Linked DNA regions of Homo sapiens: all the other regions are linked to region 1. The links are contacts of gene promoters, found by promoter capture Hi-C in blood cells and fetal thymus (Javierre and others, 2016). All regions are on one chromosome and are shown on one strand. Each heading gives the region's core, a stretch centred on a gene start or on the middle of the fragment in contact. The rest is flanking DNA. Distances are from core to core; before and after follow the strand shown.

Evidence for each region. The method cuts DNA at HindIII sites, captures the fragments that hold promoters and counts their contacts. A CHiCAGO score of 5 or more calls a contact.
Region 2: a contact is called between the fragment with the promoter of PRPH2 here and the fragment with the promoter of PEX6 in region 1, in 2 of 17 cell types (non-activated CD4 T cells and neutrophils). The highest score is 7.6, in non-activated CD4 T cells.
Region 3: a fragment that was not itself captured here is called in contact with the fragment with the promoter of PEX6 in region 1 in 1 of 17 cell types (total B cells); the score reaches 5.5 in total B cells.

What each region holds. Positions count from the first base shown.
Region 1 is chr6:42,977,893-42,980,592 of GRCh38, forward strand. It overlaps PEX6 (peroxisomal biogenesis factor 6), which reads right to left and starts at 1,289. Exons shown (of 17, transcript NM_000287.4): 1 at 377-1,289. The coding sequence starts at 1,258. LOC124900215 (a long non-coding RNA gene) reads right to left here. Exons shown (of 2, transcript XR_007059580.1): 2 at 2,650-2,700. RefSeq lists enhancers at 549-1,490, 1,651-1,700 and silencers at 861-1,240, 1,895-2,091. The HindIII fragment of the contact is 10,844 bases long and covers 1-2,700 here.
Region 2 is chr6:42,721,244-42,723,943 of GRCh38, forward strand. PRPH2 (peripherin 2) reads right to left here and starts at 1,354. Exons shown (of 3, transcript NM_000322.5): 1 at 511-1,354. The coding sequence starts at 1,091. The HindIII fragment of the contact is 19,648 bases long and covers 1-2,700 here.
Region 3 is chr6:42,650,476-42,653,175 of GRCh38, forward strand. It overlaps UBR2 (ubiquitin protein ligase E3 component n-recognin 2), which reads left to right. Exons shown (of 47, transcript NM_001363705.2): 24 at 1,548-1,596; 25 at 2,016-2,170. Among named protein-coding and RNA genes, the nearest start is that of PRPH2, 71 kb to the right of the region's middle. The HindIII fragment of the contact is 871 bases long and covers 833-1,703 here.

The DNA.
Region 1 (2,700 bases), core at 39-2,538:
GAGTCCAATGGCGCGATCTTGGCTCACCGCAACCTCCGCCTCCCAGGTTCAAGCGATTCTCCTGCTTCAGCCTCCCAAGTAGCTGGGATTAGAGGCATGCACCACCACGCCCGGCTAATTTTACATTTTTTTAGTAGAGACGGGGTTTCTCCATGTTGGTCAGGCTGGTCTCGAACTCCCGACCCCAAGTGATCCGCTCGCCTCGGCCTCCCAAAGTGCTGGGATTACAGGCGTGAGTCACCGCGCCCGGCTAGAAACATTATGTTCAAAGTCCGGGATGATATGGGGCACGAGTCCTAAATCTTCCAATTTACCTAAGACAGAGAAGAGGGTATAAGAAAGAGGAAGCACTCCTGACCCCAGTCCTTTATCCTACCTGAATTCTGAGCTCTCCCATTTCCAGGGGGTCACAGCCAAGATTAAAAGCCAAAGTGGCAGGGACAAGCGCCAGTCCGTCAGCGAGGGGCTCTCCCAGCGGTCCAGAGCCGGGTCCCAGTCTATCAGAGAGGTCCCAGCGAGGTTCTAGGACCTGCACCCTAGCCAAGTGCGGCTGTGAAGTGTTCGATGACTCTCTGGCCTGGGCCACCCACACCCATTCGCCCTGGAAGAGGCCAAGGCCACGGAGACAGCTCCGGCTCACCCCTAGTGAATCTCCAGTCCCTCCCAGAACTCCCTGGAGTCGCCGCACTGTGCCAGAAACCGCAAAGGAGGACACCACGGGCGGGGGTGGGGGCCGACTGCTGTCCCCAGACTCTGGACACAGTCTGGCCCGCCCGCGGAGCTCAGTCACAGCCAGCCGAGTCCCTGGGCCCAGCAGCCCTTGCAACGCCGGCCGCGTCTCCAGCACCCGCGGTCCGGGCACTGGGAGGGTCTCTCCGCGCCTCACCAGCAGCGGCCCGACTCGCGGTCCGAGCCCAGGCCCCAGCGAGGTGCCAAGCAGTGCCCAACCTAGCGCCGGGGGCCGCCGCACCGCCCGCGCCCGCACCCAGGCCCCGGAGCCCAGTGCCAGGAGCCGCAGCAGCGCGCGGCTAACCAGTAGCTGCGGCGGCCCGGGACCCTGCTCTTCGGTGCCCGCGTCCGGCCCCTCCAGGGCTGCCACCAGCAGCGCCGGCCCTGCCGGGCTCTCCCCTGCAGGCCTCAGGGCCAGCACCAGGCCCAGCTCCGCCGCCGGCCACGGGCCCCCGGGTGGCAGCAGCACTGCCAACGGGGGTGTCTCGGTCGGAAAGGGCTCCAGGACCCGCAAGACAGCCAGCGCCATGGTGACAGGACACCAACGAGGAGGGTGAAGGAGCGCAGCTTCCGGAGCCAGAGAGCCAGACGACTAGTGTGCGCGAGGGCCGCTTCCGCTTCCGTCAGGGGAGGCCAGAGGAAAAGGGGAGGGGGGTCGGGTGCCGCGAACTTGCTCTGAGGGGGTTAGCTGCGCCTCGGATTGATCTGCGTCGTGCCTCGATAGGCAGTAACCTTCATCGCTGCGGTTGCGTAGCGTTTACCCATGCGCCATTTGAACTTGTGCTTAAGGGATTTATCTTTGCCTTCTACGGAAGTAATGTTCTCTTAACTATTTTTCCCCGTGGCATGAACGTAACAGTTTATTGACTGATAAATGAACAGTCAGCATGCTCGGGATGACTGGGCCCAGTACTGGGAGCTCTAGGTGAAATGTTTCGGAAGGAGTCCGCTCCTCTGCGGAGCTCCTGCAGCTTCCCCTGTGGAACTGTGAGCACTGAGGTTTGAGGGTTGCAGGAAAGGTTGCAGGAGGGAGTAGCAGGATTAGAAAACTGTCTCACACTTGCTTATAGGTATATAGTGGCTGCTGAGTGAATTACTAGATGTGATTCATACAGCCCTGGAGTGCTTGGTGCCACCACACATGTTCCAGCACATCTGGCACAAAACCCATGTTCCAGGACTTCTTGCCCTGTTCATTGTTCTGTTTGTTTTACTCCCACCAAACTTAAGTTGAAGACAAAACAGCTTTTCTTTCACCCCCCCCCCCCAAATCCTTGCAGATCGGAAACCCATTCACTTTCTATCCTAGAGCGGGGCAGGCAGCAGAGCAGGCAGAAGGAAAGGAGTTCAAGGCTTCTGTCAGCATAACACCAACAGTCGACTTCCTGCGTGTGCTGTTATTTAGATTCCATCCTTCTCTTCACCTCCACTGTTCTGTACAAGACACTCAGCTAGTGGTAGGCCACATTTCCTTTTTTATGGCAACAGGGTCCTACTCTGTCACCCAGGTTGGAGTACAGTGGCACGATCCCCATTCATTGCAGCTTCTACCGTCCCAGGCTCAAGTGATCTCCCACCTCAGCCTCCCGAGTAACTGTAGCCGGGACCACAGGCACACGCCACCATACCCAGCCAATTTTTTTTTTGAGACGGAGTTTCGGTCTTGTTGCCCAGGCCAGAGTGCAATGGCACGATCTCAGCTCACTGCAATCTCCGCTTCCCAGGTTCAAAGAATCTCCTGCCCCAGCCTCCCAAGTAGCTGAGATTACAGGTGTGTGCCACCACACCCAGCTAATGTTGTATTTTCAGTAGAGACGGGGTTTCACCCTGTTGGTCAGGCTGGTCTCGAACTCCTGGCTTCAAGTGAGCCACCTGCTTACGCCTCCCAAAGTGCTGGGATTACAGGCATGAGCCACTGCGCCTGGACTAATTTTTTATTTTTTGTAGAGACAGAGTTTCTCTGTGTTGCCT
Region 2 (2,700 bases), core at 104-2,603, 260 kb before region 1:
GCTCTTTCCAACATATCCAGACAAACATCTTGGGAATGGATGCTCAGGGTTGAAAGGTTGGAAAACAAGGGAACTAACTAGGAAATTTAAACTTCTGGGACTGAATCCATCTACTTTGAATGAATGGGACAAATAGCCAAATAGTACCTCAGTGTTTGTGATCTATGAATGACTTCCATCCCTCTGTATAAAGTGGACACACATTGCTGCCTGGCTCTTCATCCCAAGGGGCTCCTATCCAAACAGCTTATATAAATTGATACCTTCCTACCACCTTAGCCAATGTTAGGTTGAACCCTATGAAGTTGTCATTTTTTATGGGTCAAAGAGGTAGAATATTAGCAATTTCATATGGTTCCACCTGATACACCCTCACATACGCAGCAATAAGTTGTGCACCCGATGGAGAGGAAAAGGCACTGGGTGCGGGGAGAGGGGCTGGTCAGAGGCCTGAGCCTCAGTGTCCCCAATATATTCATAGCTCTGACCCCAGGACTGGAAGCCACTCACTCTTTGACTTCTTTGGAGGAAAAGTCCAGGTAGCGATTGCTGATCCACTGAATCTCAAACCAGTCCCGAAAACCGTTGTTGCCGCAGCATTTGAACTCGATCTGCAGCATGTCGATGGTCTTCTTCATGAAACACCTGCCAGGGGTGTCTGTGTCCCGGTAGTACTTCATGCCGTTCTTGAGCCCTTGGCCCAGGGTGTTCTCCAGCGAGCCCCGAAGCAGAAAGCAGCAGAGAGCCACAAGGAAGAGGATGATGTTGAAGAGAACACAGATAGCCAGGTACGGCTTCAGCCAGGGCTTCCATCTGGCATACTTGGCTGGGTCCAGGGCGTCGTAGCAGATCTTCCCAGCCAGCGAGTTGAAGACACAGGATAGCACCCCCATCCCTATCAATGAGTTGGGCACAAAATGGCTCTCAGAATTATTCATCACATCGCTCCTCTTTCGGAGTTCAATCTTCAGGAACAGTCCTAGGCTGAAGATGATGATGCCAGCCAACACGGAGAACCAGTTCATGAGCCAGAGCCCTTGGGCCAACTTGACCCGCTTCTTCTGGTCAAACTTGACTTTCAGTAGCGCCATGCTTGCCAAGTGTAGTCCGGGTTGCTTCCCACAGCACAGCTCCCACCCCAAACCTTAACGAGCCCAGAGGCGGAGACTTAGGGCCTTGGGAAAAGTGCAGATGGCCCAAGCTGTAGGGAGCTGCCCTGGGGGCTACCCATGTCGAGTCCCACTAGCCTGGGATCCCCGTGAATGCAGTAGTGGTGGCAGGGGTCTCGGAATCACAGCTTGAGCAGGGGATAGTCCTGGTCCTGGGCGTTGTTTCTTCAGCGCCCTTCCCAGCCAAGAAGGGGCAGCCTGAACGCTGCAGATTAAAAGTGGGATCCACAAGACATTTTGCTAATCTCTTTAGCCAGGTTCATCCCATTAGATAAAGCCATGCCACTCTCAAAACATGGTCAAAAGCAGCCTCCAGGTACATGCTGAACCAGAAAGCTCTGGGTACAGCTTGGAGAATCAGGAGCAAAGGGCAAGACTGGCCAGAAGAATGGGCTGTATCTGGATGTCTGGCTCAGACCGTGTTGCTCCCCAAAAGCATATTTCCAGGCCAATCTCCTTCAACATTTAAAACTTTCTGTAGGACAAATAAATTGTTATCCTCTCTGAGAAAAGAAATGACAGGGCCAGGCACAGTGGATCACGCCTATAATCCCAGCACTTTGGGAGACCAAGTTGGGTGGATCACTTGAGCCCAGGAGTTCAAGACCAGCCTGGGCTACATAGGAAGACCCCATCTCCACACACACACACACACACACAAAAAAAAAAAAAAAAAAATTAGCTGGGTATGGTGGCATGCACCTGTAGTTCTCCCAGCTACTCTGGAGGCTGAGGTGGCAAGATCACCTGAGCCTGGGGAGTTCAAGGCTGCACTGAGCCATGATCGTGCCACTGCACTCCAGCCTGGGTGACAGAGTGAGGCCCTGTCTCAAATTTTAAAAAGACAAAGAAAAGAAGAGAAGAAGGAAGGAAAGAAAGAAAGTGACAGATCGTGAGAAAACATTTGCAACTTGTAAAATTAAAAAGTAATATACAGTGGCCAGGCATGGTGGCTTATGCCTGTAATCCCAGTACTTTGGGAGGCCAAGGCAGGTGGATCGCTTGAGCCCAGGAGGTGGAGGTTGCACTGAACTGAGATCCCCACATTGCACTCCAGCCTGGGTGACAGTGAGACTCTGTCTGGAAAAAAAAAAAAAAGAATTAATATGCAAAAATGTTTTAAGTCTCACAAATTCACAATAAACAAAAATTCACAATCAAAAGACCAATAATCAACTGGAAAAATAGGCAAAAACCAGGAACAGACAATTCATAATTAGGAAACTTGAAAAGTCCAATAATCTGGAAAAGATCTCAACTTGGGTAATAAGCAGGAAAATGCAAATCCAAACAACAATAAAATACCAAACTTGGCCGGGCACAGTGGTTCACACCTGTAATCCCAGCAGTTTGGAAGGCCAAGGTGGGTGGATCACTTGAGGTCAGGCATTCAAGACCAGCCTGGCCAACATGGTGAAACCCTGTCTCTACTAAAAATACAAAAATTGTCTGGGTATGGTGACAGGCACCTGTAATCCCAGTTACTTGTGAGGCTGAGGAAGGAGCATCAATTGAACCCGGGAAGTGGAGG
Region 3 (2,700 bases), core at 18-2,517, 330 kb before region 1:
TGGTGGCTATTCACAATGCCATTATAGAGCATTGCAACCTCAAACTCCTGGGCTCAAGCAATTCTCCCACCTCAGCCTCTTGAGTAGATGAGATTACAGGCATGCACCACTGTATCTGGCTTGAATTTTTTTTTCCTAAACAACTTTTTTACTGCTTTTGCAGATTGAAAAATGATACATTTTTATTGTAGGGGATTTGGAAAATATAAAATATAAAGAAGAAAGTAGAAATTACTTAAAATACCCTCACCTAACATTTTGGAGTTACCCCCTAGCGTTTTGTACATATGTATATACGATCTATATAATACATACCTTTACGTATATGGGTATAGTTTTTTAAAACAAATTTTCAACCTGTATTATAATCAGTTAATCCATTTTATGCACATTTCAGAATTGGTATTATTTAACACTTTTTCATAGAGATTCATGGAGCTTTTCTAATCATTCCTAGGTAATTAAATTTTGCCTTTTTGGTGGGGCATGTAATCCCAGCACTTTGGGAGGCTGAGGCGGGCAGATCGCTTGAGCTCAGGAGTTCGAGATCAGCCTGGCCAACATGTTGAAATCCCATGTCTACTAAAAATACAAAAATTAGCCAGGCATGGTGTCATGCACTTCTCGTCCCAGCTACTCAGGAGGCTGAGATAGGAGGATCACTTGAGCCCAGGAGGTCAAGACTGCAGTGAGCTATGATTGCACCACTGCATTCCAGCTTGGATGATGGGAGTGAGACCGTATCTCAAAAAAAAAAAAAAAATCTGCCTTTTAGCAGTCTCCTCTTAAAATGGTTTTTCAATAAACAGCATTAAATAAAACTTAAACATAAAGCTTTTATTTAGTTTTTGATGAAGTCATAGAGTTCAAACTTAAATAAGTTTGTACTTATTTAAGTACATGTTTCCCTTCTAATTTAAAGTAATAGAGAACTCGTTTGGAGATTCTTTTAGTTAAAAAAAAAAATTAACCTTGATGTATCCGTTTGGGGGAGGACTAGAACTTAAAGATAGATATCTTTTTTATTTTTTATTTTTTTTGAGATAGGGTCTCACTCTGTTACCCAGGCTGGAGTGCAGACCTCGGCTCACTAGAGCCCCTGCCTCCCAGGTTCAAGCAATTATCCTGCCCCAGCCTTCTGAGTAGCTAGGATTACAGGTGTGTGCCACCACGCCCAGCCAATTTTTGTATTTTTAGTAGAGATGGGGATTCTCCGCGTTGGCCAGGCTGCTCTCGAACTCCTGACCTCAGGTGATCCACCTGTCTTGGCCTCCCAAAGTGCTGGGATTACAGGTGTGAGCTGCCACGCCCCGGCCTCTGTTGTGTTATTTTCTGATTTTAGATGTTCATCCTTGGCCAGACACATTGGCTCATGCCTGTAATCCCAGCACTTTGGGAGGTTGAGGTGGGCAGATCACAAGGTCAGGAGTTCAAGACCAGCCTGGCCAACATAGTGAAACCCCACCTCTACTAAAAATATAAAAATTAACCAGGTGTGGTGGTGGGCATTACTAATTCCCGGTCCAAATAACTTTATTTTTTATTAGGCAGAAGAAGCGCAACGGAAATTGAAAAGACAAAATAGAGAAGATACAGGTATTTTTAATCTTTCTGAAAATGTCTTGCCCATCTTTTTTGCTTGTTAAACATTGTTTTCTGTTAACTATGATGATTGTCCTTGGTGGAATGAATATTTAAATGTAAGCTTTCCTAGTGAATAACCTCCTATTCAGAGGAATAATAAATATGTTAACACAGAAATAGTTTGTGCTAAGTCCTCTGGGTTGATGTTATCTCAGATCTTAAGACCTTTCTAGGGGAAAAGATAGACTTTCTTCTGTACTGCTGCTACTTTCGTGGCTCTTTTTATGCATTTGACCTTGAGAATGTAAAATAATAGCTTTAAGGTGTGTGTTAATGAATATTCTTTGAGTTAAAACTATCAAAAGTAACAAAGAGATAGTTTCTAAAGCATGTTCTGTAAAAGAAACCAATAATAACAACTGTATTTTCAGCACTCCCACCTCCGGTGTTGCCTCCATTCTGCCCTCTGTTTGCAAGCCTGGTTAACATTTTGCAGTCAGATGTCATGTTGTGCATCATGGGAACAATTCTGCAATGGGCTGTGGAACATAATGGATATGCCTGGTCAGAGTCCATGCTGCAAAGGGTAGGTTTGAAGACATTTATTATTTATATTTTAGTATTTTATAGTACAAGCAAAATATTCTTGTCTGTATCTATACACAGGAAAACTAGGCCGAAATGTATTGTGTTTTCCTAACTTGAATATATTGTTACTGCTTTTGTGTCTGACAGTAAAAACAAGTGCCAGACAGATTTTTTTATACCACATGGTTGTTATTACCTCAGTCCCACTGGGCAGTTGTTCTCTCCTAGATTGGTCCTTGTCTTTATATATGTAGTATTCTGATATTGATATAATGTGTTATCTTTTATATATGTTTCTAATCTAATTATTTTCCAAAACAAAAATTTTTTTTGAATCATCCATATCCTTATTTTGTAGTTGAAGAAACTGACACTCATAGACTTACGGTCCTATAGCTAGTTAAGTGGCAAGTCTGGAACCTTGTTTGTGTTATTTTTGTTTTTGTGTTTTTGAGACAGGATCTAGCTTTGTCACCCAGGAAGCTGGAGTGCAGTGGTGCAATCTTGGCTCACTGCAACCTCTGCCTC